2 separate regions of the Homo sapiens genome follow, and region 2 is linked to region 1. Evidence: promoter capture Hi-C in 16 types of primary human blood cells and fetal thymus (Javierre and others, 2016). All regions are on one chromosome and are shown on one strand. The core of a region is centred on a gene start or on the middle of the fragment in contact, and the rest is flanking DNA. Distances in the headings are between cores, read along the strand shown.

Evidence for each region. The method cuts DNA at HindIII sites, captures the fragments that hold promoters and counts their contacts. A CHiCAGO score of 5 or more calls a contact.
Region 2: a fragment that was not itself captured here is called in contact with the fragment with the promoter of B3GALNT2 in region 1 in 1 of 17 cell types (megakaryocytes); the score reaches 5.1 in megakaryocytes.

Annotation. Positions count from the first base shown.
Region 1 is chr1:235,501,269-235,508,000 of GRCh38, reverse strand. It overlaps B3GALNT2 (beta-1,3-N-acetylgalactosaminyltransferase 2), which reads left to right and starts at 3,549. Exons shown (of 12, transcript NM_152490.5): 1 at 3,549-3,860. The coding sequence starts at 3,749. RefSeq lists enhancers at 2,951-3,070, 2,771-3,447 and a silencer at 3,381-4,020. The HindIII fragment of the contact is 19,953 bases long and covers 1-6,732 here.
Region 2 is chr1:235,760,363-235,766,797 of GRCh38, reverse strand. It overlaps LYST (lysosomal trafficking regulator), which reads left to right. Exons shown (of 53, transcript NM_000081.4): 21 at 521-719; 22 at 3,947-4,078. Among named protein-coding and RNA genes, the nearest start is that of MIR1537, 89 kb to the left of the region's middle. RefSeq lists a silencer at 2,488-2,567 and an enhancer at 2,598-2,717. The HindIII fragment of the contact is 2,922 bases long and covers 1-2,805 here.

The DNA of each region.
Region 1 (6,732 bases), core at 2,300-4,799:
ATGTATTACATTGGTAATCAGAAAAAAAAATTCTTCTTTAGAGCCTTCACAATAAAGTCCAAATTCCTTAGCAAAGTTTATGATTACAACCTGGCCTCTGCCTTCTGTTCACCTTCTCATCATTGCCGTGTTCCTAACTTGCACTAAGGTCATACCAATTGCTTACATTTCCCTAATTGCCGTGTCATCACTAGCTCAGGTTTATTTATTTTATTTTTTATTTTTTTGCCTACAGTGCTCTTGAATGTCCTTCCTACTTTCTGGCCCTGTTAACTGGCCACTTTGACTTCAAGCCCCGGCCCTGTATTTTCAAGAGATAGCCTCCTCTGGGGACCCTTGAGTAGAGTTAAATATAGTTGGCCCTCCATATCCCTGGGTACTGCATCTATGAATTCAACCAACCTCAAATTCAGGAAAAAAGCAAACTTGAATTTGCGCATGCCATTGAATCCACGTGAATGAAGTGATGCGTAGACATCATATTAGGTGTTATAAGTAATTTAGAGATGATTTCGCGTATATGAGAGGATGTGTGTATGTTATATGCAAATATTATACCATTTTATATAAGGGACTTGAGCATCCATGAATTTTGGTATCCATAGAAGGTCCAGAACCAATCCCCCATGAGTAGAGACAGCTGTACCCCCTGCTTTGTGCTGCTCTAACATCCTGTGCATTCCTTTCTCAGAGCACTTATCACATTGAATTGCCATCATGGTTACCAACCACCCTAGTTTGTCTCTCCCTAATTCTAATTCTGTTAACTTGTTCCTACTTACCCTATGAGCCCCTTGAGTGCACAGACTGTTTATATCACTACTGAGTTTTTTTATTCTTTCCATTACACATACTGTCACTTTTACCTTTTTTTTTTTTTTTTAGAAACAAGGTCCCACTCTGTCACCCAGACTGAGTCCTGTGGTGTGATCATAGCTCACTCTAACCTTGAACTCTGGGGCTTAAGTGATCATCCTGCCTCAGCCTCCCGAGTAGCTGGAACTATAGGCGTATACCACCATGCCCAGCTAATTGTTAATTTTTTGTAGAGACGAGGTCTTGCTATGTTGCCCAGGCTGGTCTTGAACTCCTGGACTCAAGTGATCCTCCCACCTCAGCCTCCTAAAGTGCTGGGATTACAGGAATTACTGTCTTGCAATCTTCACTCACTTTAGTCATGAGATTATTAGGGGACAGTAGAAAACAGGTAAGTGGAAAGGTCACTGGTCCTATGAACAAGTACTATAGACAGCTCCCACTCTGATGTGATTTGAAGGATGTTACAAAGTTATTCAAAACTATTTTTGTTACAAGCTTGTCAGAGAGCCAGTGAAAAACTTCCCCTCTAGGTTGTTAAGTGAAACAACACCTTGATTATTTAATATATTCGGATGACTTATGTTTATTCTTCCCTTTAGTGCTCATTGTAACTTTGAACAGTTGTTTAAATACTGCTAGTTGATACTGCAATCTGTGTCATTTCAATCCCACACTCACAATTCCCCTACCCGGCCCTAATTGTTATATTTTCCAGAGCAGGAATAACCTTCTAACATGCTGGTTGAGTATATTTCTTTATTATGTCTATAGTCTGCGCCCTACTCCCCATCAACACAGGATAGGGATCTTTATTTTGTTCACTGGTGTATCTAAAGTACCTACAAAAGTGTCTGGTACATAATAGACACTCAATAAGTATTTGTCGAATGACTAGCTCTGCTGAAATGAGGGATTAGTCCTCTTTTTAGGATAACTCATTCTAATTCACAAAATGAAAATTTTACAATATCAACAGAGGCCATTTACTACCTTTCCTGAGGATAAAAATAGTATACTTTTTCTGGCAACCAATTATTACTTTCTTGCCTTTTCTTTTTATTTTTTTTTTGTTTGTTTGTTTGTTTTTGAGACAGAGTCTCGTTCTGTCACCCAGGCTGGAGTGCAATGGCGCGATCTCGGCTCACTGCAACCTCCGCCTCCTGGGTTCAAGCGATCCTCCTGCCTCAGCCTCCTGAGTAGCTGGGACTACAGGTGCCCACCACTACGCCAGACTAATTTTTGTATTTTTAGTAGAGACAGGGTTTCACCATGTTACCCAGGCTAGTCTCGAACTCCTGCCCTCAAGTGATCCGCCCACCTCGGCCTCCCAAAGTGCTGGGATTACACGCATGAGCCACGGCGAGCCAAAGTACTTTTTTCCCTTAAGCCTGTTTGAGTTGGGTCTTCTGTCATCCAAGACTTTTTTTCAATAATACAGTCACCTTCTGTTTCCACACTTGTGGAAACTTAAAAAAAAAAAAAAAAAAACCGCGGCCGAGCGCGGTGGCTCACGCCTGTAATCCAAGCATTTTGGGAGGCCGAGGCGGGCGGATCACCTGAGGTCAGGAGCTGGAGACCAGCCTGGCCAACATGGCGAAACCTCGTCTCTACAAAAAAAATACAAAAATTAGCTGGGCGCAGTGGCGGGCGCCTGTAATCCCAGCCACTCAGGAGGCTGAGGCAGGAGAATCGCTTGAACCCAGGAGGCGGAGGTTGCAGCGAGCCGAGATCGCGCCATTGCACTACAGCTTGGGTGACAGAGTGAGACTCCGTCTCAAAAACAAAAGCAGAAACAAAAACCGCCCCATAGCCCAGCCGCTCGTTCTCATCCTTCTCTCCCATCCTCACCCCAGTGCCTTCACCGCCCCGTCCCCGCTTTCCGGCTGCCTCGGCGCGGGCCTGGTGGGCCAGGAGGGCTCCCACCCGGGGCAAAGCCTCAAGACGCGGGGCCGGCGTTCTCCCTGGAAGGCTCGCTGCGGCCACCCTTCCCCAGGTCCCCGGAGCCCACGTTCTCCCAGCTCGCCCGGCTCCCGTTTCGCTCCCAGCTCCAGTATGAACCCGGAGCACGTGCAGTTCTACCCTGATTGGCTCGTCATCATCGTGTTCCACAGCCTAGTCCCCAGCTCGCTGTCTGTCACCCTGCGTTCCCAGAGCACAGAACCGGGCAAAGAGCCGGGAACCCACGGCACCAGAGCTAATCCCTGATGAGTCACCGCTCCAGGCGCGGACACTCGGGCTTCCTCGCCCCACTCTACGGGCCAAGGAGACGTCAGCAGGATCCCACCTCCCACAGCAGTCGAGCAAGAGAGCACGCGGAACAAAGGAGCTCTGCGTGATTTCACACAAGAGCCACTCGGATTTCCTTCAAATCTGAGGCAAAGCGCATTTCCCTTCGCGGCTCCGGGCAGCCTCCGAGCACCGGGTCTCCGGCACTACCTCCCCTGGGCCGTGGGGTGGCAGCAAACGTCAAGGGGGATGCGCATGCTCTGTGTGGGGCCTCGCCCTTCGCCCCCGCGGCCGCCGAGTGACGGAAGCGCGTGCTTAGGCTCATGGGAAATGTGGTTTCTAAACCGCGGGCGCCCCCTGCCTGGGCCCAGAGCGGGACTTCAGCTCCCGGCCGGCTGGCTGGCGCGTGTGGAAACGCGGGAGGAGAGGGCGGGGCGAGTGGGAGAAAAGGTGGGCGGAGCCGGTGGGAAGGCCAGGCGGAGGGGGCGGGGCTTCGGCCGGCTAAGCCGCGGCCACCCGCGGTCTGAGGGACCGGAGGAGCGGGGCCGGGAGCTGCGAGGAGCCCCCCAGACGTCGCCGAGCGCGAGGGCGGGCGTGCTCGGAGTGGTCGCTCGTCAGCCGCCGCCCCTCAGTCTCCGCACTTGCAGGTCCCCTCCCTCTCCGCCGGGACGCGGGAGAGCCCGGCTCGCGGCGGGGGCGGCCAATGCGAAACTGGCTGGTGCTGCTGTGCCCGTGTGTGCTCGGGGCCGCGCTGCACCTCTGGCTGCGGCTGCGCTCCCCGCCGCCCGCCTGCGCCTCCGGGGCCGGCCCTGCAGGTGAGGTCCTGGGGCCGGGCGGGTTGGCGGCCGCCGGGGGGGTGGGAGGCCCGGCTTGGTGCCGCGGGGCTTCGCCGGGAATTGTTGGAGGCGGGGGAAGGGCCAAACGCGACGGTCCCCAGACGAAACAAACGGCTCTTTTCATCCTTGGAGCGTTAACATCGGGCAAACTTGAGGGAGCTTTTCTCTTTTCGTGTCCCCGCCTCTTCTCACTTCCCCGTTTCCCTTAACGCCCGCAGAGCCGGCGCCCGCAGTTGCAAGTCCTTCGCCTGTCCCCAGGCCTGGTTAGTGATGTCCGACGCCGCCCGTTCGCCCGGGAGCGGAACCTCGTGTGCCCTTCAGCCGCCAGCGCTTTCTGCTTTGGGAGCTCTGGCTCTGAAGTTGTTTTCTTCCCCCCCAAGTTGTTGGTCTTTCTCGGTCAAGACTGGGGTTTTAGTGCCGTGGATAATGTGTGTGCGTGTTTTCAAAGGTGGCTCGGTTTTGCTTTTAAGGAATAACTTTGCTGTAAGAATATACTGTAGTTCGTATTCTTGGATTATGATGTAAGTCGGTTAAACAAATCTAGACATGAAATAGGGCATGGCCGAGAGTTGGAGTTGTTCCTGTGAGTTTGGATCGCATAACCTGCTAATGCAGTTTACATGGAAATATCAAATTCTTTAACGATCGTGTCCATTTGCTCTAAAACTTAATCTCTCGTAGGAATGAAACCTTTGTTCTTGTTTCGCGTCACAGCCTAATAGAATGCTTTACTTACGGTGCCCAGCGGATTGTTTTGTTAGTGGGTTCCACCACCCTGAACACTACTTTAGCTTTCCCTGTATCTCTTGTCTTCTTCTTTAAGGGCTTGCCCTAGAACATGAAAGAAACCTAGAAAGCTCTTTTAAATATTATGTAATACTTAATTTTGTAACTATACTGGGACTTTTTTCCCTTACCATCTCTCCCCAAAACAGCTGTTTTCTAATCCAAAAGTTCTTAAAATTAGAATTGAGTGTTTGCAGTTCAGCACTCTATGCCTTATAAGTAGAAAGTATTCGGCAATCCTCAAAACAGTCTCAGTTATATGAAATTATGTTGAGGTTATTTTGGTAACAATCTCTTTTCCTATTAGATCACTAGCTCTTTGAAAAGGATTTGTGTGACCTGAATAGAATTAAACACTATTTAAGTGATTTAATGAAAGTACAGTGTTGCTATGCACTTAACCAGTTGATGGGGTCAGGGTTTTGCTCAGTGTTTTTTAGGTTTTTGTGAAGTGAACTAAGAAGAGAACGCCATATATAAAAAATGCTTTGTAACAGCTGCTTGTGTGTTACAGGTTTCTCTCTTTTGTTATGAGTGAGCCCTGCTGGAATCTCCTTGTAGAGCGTCATTAAGTCTGTTTATGGCCTTAATGGTTGTTTAGGGTTCAGTAAAACAAACAAAAACTGAAATGTTAGTAGACTTCAAACTGAAATCTTAGTAGACTTGCTAGGCAGTTTTCTAGTTTGAGACAAGTTTTTCCTACTCCCTTACTGCACTTGAAGGATGATGCCTTTATCTGCCATCCAGTAGTTAGACCAGGCTAGATTAAGGAAATGAAGAAGTAGACCATAGAAAGGAACAGGGTAATAACGTAGGTAAGAAGATCAATACTAGTTATGTTAATTAACTTTGGCTTTGAATGAGTACTGTGTATCTGGTCAGATAATAAATGGGATTTTTTTTTAAGTTCCGGGATACGTGTGCAGGACGTGCAAGTTTGTTACATAGGTAAACGTGTGCCATGGTGGTTTGCTGCAGCTGTCAACCATCGATATTTTAATAATCTAAGTTAAACATGACTGGCCCGGCGCGGTGCCTCACGCCTGTAATCCCAACACTTTGGGAGGCCGTGGTGGGTGGATCACCTGAGGTCAGGAGTTCAAGACCAGCCTGGCCAACATGGCGAAACCCCGTCTCTACTAAAAATACAAAAATTAGCCGGGCATAGTGGTGCATGCCTGTAATCCCAGCTACTAAGGAGGCTGAGGCAGGAGAATCACTTGAACCTCGGAGGCGGAGGTTGCAGTGAGACGAGATTGCGCCACTGCACTCCAGCCTGGGTGACAAGAGCGAAAGTCCATCTCAAAATAATTAATTAATTAATTAAACAAGACTGACTCCTACCTTTCCTTTTTTCCTTTTGGTACTTTCAAAGCTAAAAGCAGTGGAAGCATCTTAAATGCTAAAATTTCCCATAATTCCTTTACCATTGTGCTGTCACCATGTTGAAACTAAAATAGTTGGGTGTTTTTACATTTTAACCCTTGTACTTTAAGCCTAACAGGAGAAAAAAAAACCCAAGATTTTGCTAAGTATTCTTTTCTTGAATTAACATTTTTAAATGTATTTTTTTTTCTCTTCTGCTGCTTTGTCTGTCTTCAGTCTCATTAAGTAATGGCAGTTTCTTTGTTTTTTTTGAAAGAGCGATTTACCTTCCCTGAATATTAAAAAAGGTTCTTTGGCTCGCAGTTGATTCAGCAAATATTTGAGAGCCTACTCTGTGCCAGCTCCTATCGTAGGTGTGGAATTACAGCAGTAATCAAGCTAAACTTCCTGCCCTCATGTAGTTTACAATTTAGAAGGGAAGACAGAGCATCAGGAAATAATTATAAATATCACAGCGGTAGTGATAAGTATAGGGAAAAAAGATAAAGCAGTGTTAAGAGATTAAAGAGATGGTTTTAAATAGGTCAGGGAAGTCCATTCCATTCTGAAGAGGTAACAGTTGAGCAGGGACCAGAATGAAGTAAGTGAGTCACCTTAGTACCAGAGTCAGCAACTTTTTTAATGTGATAGGTTCCCTTAAACCAGTCAGGGAAAGCAACTGGTAAAGAGGAAGTGAAAT
Region 2 (6,435 bases), core at 95-2,594, 260 kb before region 1:
TAGCAGTAGTAATAGTAGTGATTGTAGTTTATCACTAACATTTATATGGGGCTTACCTATATGCAAGGCACTATTCTAAGAGTTTATGTTATTTAGTCCTTATAACAACCCTATAAAGTAGCACTAGTATTACTCACATAGACAAAGAAAGTGAAGCATGCAGATGTTAAGTAACTTACCTAAGATCACATGGCTAGTGAGTGGAGAAACCAGAATGCAAACCTAGGAAGTCTGGCTTTTGAGACCACGCTTGTGAGAGTTATATAAGTTTGCCTCAGTTAATTAAGATACATGGGCTAGAATTAAGTTGCCATCTGTGTTAATGAATTTTTAATAACAAGATTGCTTGAATTAGGAAATAACTCAATTTAATGAGTTGTTATGGTAATGGTAAGTATGATCAGACTAGAGTAGTAAACCAACAGAATTCTATCTTAAAAAGAATATTTTGCCTAAATGAAAAATCTTAGTTAAGTTGACAATTCTTTAAATCTAAAGAGAGTTTTTTTTATTTTTTCAGGAATACAAAGAGGGGCAACTCACACCCATGCCCCGAGAGGTTTGTAGATCATTTGTGAAAATTATAGCAGAAGTCCTTGGATCTCCTCCAGATTTGGAATTATTGACAATTATCTTCAATTTCCTTTTAGCAGTTCACCCTCCTACTAATACTTACGTTTGTCACAATCCCACGAACTTCTACTTTTCTTTGCACATAGGTAGGTATAATCATTTTTGTTAGATCATGGCTATTTCCACTTTTGTTTTATTCTTCCCACTTGATTCACATTTGTTTGACATTTGAATGGCCTCTGTGCTGCTCTAATTACATATTGGGGTTGGGATAGGGCAGAGAGTTATAGAATGAACTAGACATGGCCTCTGTCCTCAAGGAGTCTAAATGCCAAGTGGAGAAAGGAGACATAGACTCAAATAACTACAGTAAAAAAAAAAAATGTGTATTTGGTAAGTATCAAAGAGACACAAAAGAAGAACTAATGAGATTTCAGTGGACAGAGGGTTTCATCCGACCACTGTGGAGAGAATATTTAATAGGTTACATGACATCTGATGTAGACATTGAAGATTTTGAGTAGAATTTGATAGGTAGATTGGAGAGTTAGTGTTCCAGGTAAAGACAATGACTTTAAAGGGAGGATAAAAGGAAATAGAAAATAAGGACTAATGAGTTTTACCTATATATAGGGGATCTGTAAAGGAATAGTGAGAAATAATGCCATAAATACAGTTTAAGACCACCATTTACTTATTTTTACCCTAAAGTCATATCAAATGGGTCCTTGAATGTAAGGCCAGAGAATTCGAACTTGTATTCTAGTTATAGGTCATTGAAAGGGTTTTATTTGTTTGTTTTGAGCAAAGGCTATAAGTAAATTATTGCAGTAGAATTCAGGAATAAGGAACTAGGGGCAGTAAGGCCAATTATAGTAGTCCGTGAGAGACAGGATAACAGAATCTGGGCATAGTAACAGTGGAACTGGAAAGGAGGGATAAATTGAGAAGTGGGAAGTTTAGGATGGAATGACTCTGGAGGTGTTAAGGAAAAAGGATAATGGCTTTGGTTGTATAATATATGTTGTATTTGAGGTGCCCTGCAGTTATTTATAATATAATTTTCTAGTAGGCAATTGGGAATGAGGGTTACAGCATGAAGAAGGAAGGGTAGGTTATAAGGAGCTGTCCACATAGAAGTGAGGTGAAGCTCTGAGAACAGATGAGACCACTGAAGAAAAGTAGAGCAAGAGAAGGAAAGAGAAAGCTAAGGAAAGAACTGCTGGTAGTATTACTAGTTGGAGGGTAGGACAAGAATGAAGAATCAGTAAAAGAGAAAGATGGAATAATCAGTTTTTTTTAAGAACCAGGGAAATGTAATGTAAGAAAGAAAGCAAGAATGTACCTACAAGAAAGCTGAGTCATAAATTTACATTGGAAAACTGGTTGTACAATAGCCATTTTAAGAGATGTAGTAAATGGGGCCAGGCACGGTGGCTCACGCCTGTAATCCCAGCACTTTGGGAAGCCGGGGCAGGCAGATTACCTGAGGTCAGGAGTTCAAGACCTGCCTGACCAACATGGCAAAACCCCATCTCTACTAAAAATAAAAAAAAAATTAGCCTGGCATGGTGGCACATGCCTGTAATCCCAGCTACTTGGGAGGCTGAGGCAGGAGAATGGCTTGAACCCGGGAAGCGGTGGTTGCAGTTAGGTGAGAATGTGCCATTGCACTCCAGCCTGGGTGACAAGAGCAAACCTCCATCTCAAAAAAAAAAAAAAAAAAAAAGAAAAGAAAAAAAAAGAAATGTAGTAAATGAATAAAATAAGCAGCAGTAAATGTCCAAATGAAATTAGATAGCATGACTTTGTGGTAGGCTTAGCACATTTCATGGAAAAAGGACTGTGGATAAAGATTCTGAGAGTGGGTTAGTTACAAAGATGGGTAAAATATGGTCCCCTCTCTTAAGACGTTTACAGCCTAGTTGAGGGAAAGAGGATAAAGAAACGATTATATCATGCCACGTGGAAAGCACAGTGATAAGGCAGTCAACATTTTTGTTTTCTGGTAGCATAGAGCATATGAAGACTGAGGGGGATTTCCCAGAGGAAGTGATGCCTGCCCTGAATCTTAAAGGATGAGTAAGAATCAAAGAGAAAAGGGCCTTCCAGGTAAAGGAAACAGCTTGACAGGGAACTAGGAGAAAGTGGTGTTGCTGAAATGTAATTTATGAAACAAGGCTTGGGAGGGACCTAGGGACAAATAGTGGTAATTCTTGTGGACAAGAAGCTTGGGTTTTATCCAAGGTGGTAAGGAGGCATAGAAAGCCACTGGAAGGTTTTAAGCAGGAGTTGACATTCGAGAGAGAGCGAATTCTGGTAGCTGTGAGGATTTGAGAGTAATGAGATGCTCATCAAGGATACCATTTAGAAATCTGTGATAGTAACCCAGTTGAGAGATGATAAAGCCTGCATTATAGCACTATGGTAGGGAAGAGAAGAGGTCAAGAAACAAAAAATGAAGTCATGCTAGGCATGGTGGTTCATGCTGTAATCCCAGCACTTTGAGAGGCCAAGGTGGGTGGATCACTTGAGGCCAGGAGTTCAACTCCAGCCTGGTCAACATAGCGAAACCTCGTCTCTCCTTAAAAAAAAAAGAAAAAAAAAGTTGCTGGGCGTGGTGGCACATGCCTGTAATCCCAGCTACTCGGGAGGCTGAGGCATGAGAATTGCTTGAACCAGGGAGGCAGAGGTTGCAGTGAGCAAAGATCACACCACCATACTCCAGCCTGGGCGACAGAGCAAGACTGTCTCAAAAAAAGGGAAAAAGTCAGTAGAACCTGGTGACTGATTTGCCATGGATAAAGGAAAGGTAGTGGTCAAGGGTAGCTCCAGGTTACCACATGGGAACTTCCCAAAGAACAAAACAGAAGGAGTAAATTTAGGGCAAAAAGATGATTCGGATTTAGATTTGTTGCATTTGTGATTTGTTTAAGAAACCAAGCAGTTGAATTTATAAGTATGAAGCTCAGAAATGATTAGTTTTTACAAATATTAGACACTGAAGGGGATATATAAAAATAAAAGACACAGTCCTTTCCTCAAGGATGAACAATCTCCCTTGAGAGATGATAATAACATATAAAAGTGAATAGTTAAATGTTAAACCATAGAAATAACTATAAGTACAGTTGGAATTAAGAAAATAGAAGTTAATGTGGCCAGAAATAATAAACAACAGCAAAATCTGTACTAAAAAATTGTGAAGAGTAAGTATTCACATATCGTGTGCCTTAATATAAAGTATGCTATATATTTTTCTCTTTAAACATCTTTTTGTCAAAATTTGAATTTAATGATCTGCTTTTAAAGTTATATTTTCGTTTTATCCTTTTTAAAAATTTTGCTGTTTCAAAAAAAATTTGGATTCTAGATGGCAAGATCTTTCAGGAGAAAGTGCGGTCAATCATGTACCTGAGGCATTCCAGCAGTGGAGGAAGGTCCCTTATGAGCCCTGGATTTATGGTAATAAGCCCATCTGGTTTTACTGCTTCACCATATGAAGGTAAAAATAGCAATAATGGAAGTATGACCTTCTCATTTTAGTTCTGAATATTCTTAGATAATTAAATTGTACATATTTTAGAAGTATATGTAGTACAACCTCATTCAATCTAACAAGAGACACCCAGCACAGGTCCTCAAGAGCATTGAGAAAATGGATGAGGCTCATGCTATCTTGTTCTGGCATTCTCTGACTTCTCTTATCATAGTCATTTGTCTTTCATCAAGCTTCTGATTTATTTTACCATTTTCTTCAGAAGCTTTTTAAAAACTTTTATTCTCTTCTGTCTACCTAAAACCATCATTCTGGACAACTTCACTTGCCAGATAAATGGCCACCCAATACTCCAGCTTCACATTTTTTGACTCAGGGTACCTTTTCTCTACTTTGTCTTACCGCTCTGCATGCATCTGTCTTGGACTTTATCATCATCAAGAATGCTTTCAAGCACCTGTGAAACTACAATATCCCGCTTTGTTCTATCCATATGATCTGTTTTTCAATCACATGCATCACTCTGAAACATTTTCAAATACTGTACAATCATGGCTCCATTTCTTTTCCAAGTCTTTTGAACAGAATCTTTTTTTTTTATAATTACACTTTAAGTTTTAGGATACATGTGCACAATGTGCCGGTTTGTTACATATGTATACATATGCCATGTTGGTGTGCTGCACCCATTAACTCGTCATTTAGCATTAGGCATATCTCCTAATGCTATCCCTCCCCCCTCCCCCCACCCGACAACAGGCCCTGGTGTGTGATGTTCCCCTTCCTGTGTCCACGTGTTCTCATTTGAACAGAATCTTTCTGTATCATTAGCCCTCCAGCCAACCAGAGAAACAGAATCCTTTGGGGGAGTTCTGACATGCTGAAAAAAGGCAAAGGGGATGCATTCATCCTCTCTAATTGACAGCCTCCCATCTTTCTGGTTTTTTTTTGTTTTTTTTTTAATCACACTCCAAAGTTCCCCTTGTCTCGCTTTCCCTATCCAGCCTAGGTCACATTAGCCAATAACTTCAGCAGTTACTCAGTTGGAAAGTATCTCAGTTTCCTTGTCCCCTTAGCCTATTGGTATTCTTGAACTGAAAAATGCTAACCTCGCCTCAGTCTAACCATTGTCATACTGCTGAAAGTTGTAGCAGAGCTTTAAAGGCTGCCCTGTAATTTTTAGGTATGTTCAGAATCAATACCCTCTTCTATTTCCATAGTAAGTGTATTCAAGTCTTTAAGCCTACAGTACTTTTCTATCTTCCTAATTGACTCTTAACAGAGTCTCATCGCTACTTTATAGAAGAAAAGAATAGGTGCAGGTTTTCTAGTTGCAAACTGACCATACATCTTTTCCTTTCCTGACTACTGTCCTTTTCCATACTGGGACATTGCTCTTATTGTCAGTCCAACCTAGTCTTGTCTTTAGCTTCAATCCTAATTATTAAATACTGCAGGTGAGATGGTAATAGAGATAGATAGAACTAGATATATAGGTATTAGTCTCTAGTTTTGTTTTCCTGCCAAAGTGTTTCAGTTATTCTCTAGCACTTTTTATGCTCTTTTATAATAATATTTTAAGGCTATGTTTTTATTAGTTTTCCTTTTCTTTTTAAAAAAAATTTTTTTTAAATAAATGAGATAGGGTTTTGCCTTTTTGCCCAGGCTGGTCTTGAACTCTTGGGCTCAAGTGAGCCACCCACCTCTGCCTCCCAAAGTGCTGAGATTACAGGCTCAAGCCACTGCACCTGGCCTTTTTGAATTAGTTTTATTTGGAATTTTACAGGACATATTTGTTTTTTAAATCATCTGTCATGTTGAAACATTTTCAAATACAATCATACCCCCATTTTTTCCAGATCTTTTGAAGAGAATCTTTTGGCAACTTTAGCCCTCTAGCCCAAATCCAGAAATAACTAGAAAAAGATTCTGAGCTATGGAGCTATTTTATTGCCACAGAGTCTATGCTCTAAAGCAGTTCATTTAATGCCTGTTTACTCTGTGTTCATGGTCTCAAATTTTAACCTGCAAAAGAATCACCTGGAGAGCTGTTGACACTGATTCCTGGGCCCCTCTCTCATACATTCTGTATCAGTAGATCTAGGGTGGAGCCTGAGAATGTGAAGTCCCAACAATCCCACAGGTGGTATTGATGCCCATGCTACCAGTCCACAGACCACACCTTGAATGGCATGCACTTGTATCCCATGCACTACAATGAAAATAATTTTTCTGGTGTCTTCCTGCATAGAATATTAGAAGCAGTAAATTAGAGAGCTGTGACAAGAAAAGAAACTATTCTCACTAATAACAGCAAGAAGTGACTGCAAAAATGGAGGAGAGAGAGAACTGTCTAGGGCTGT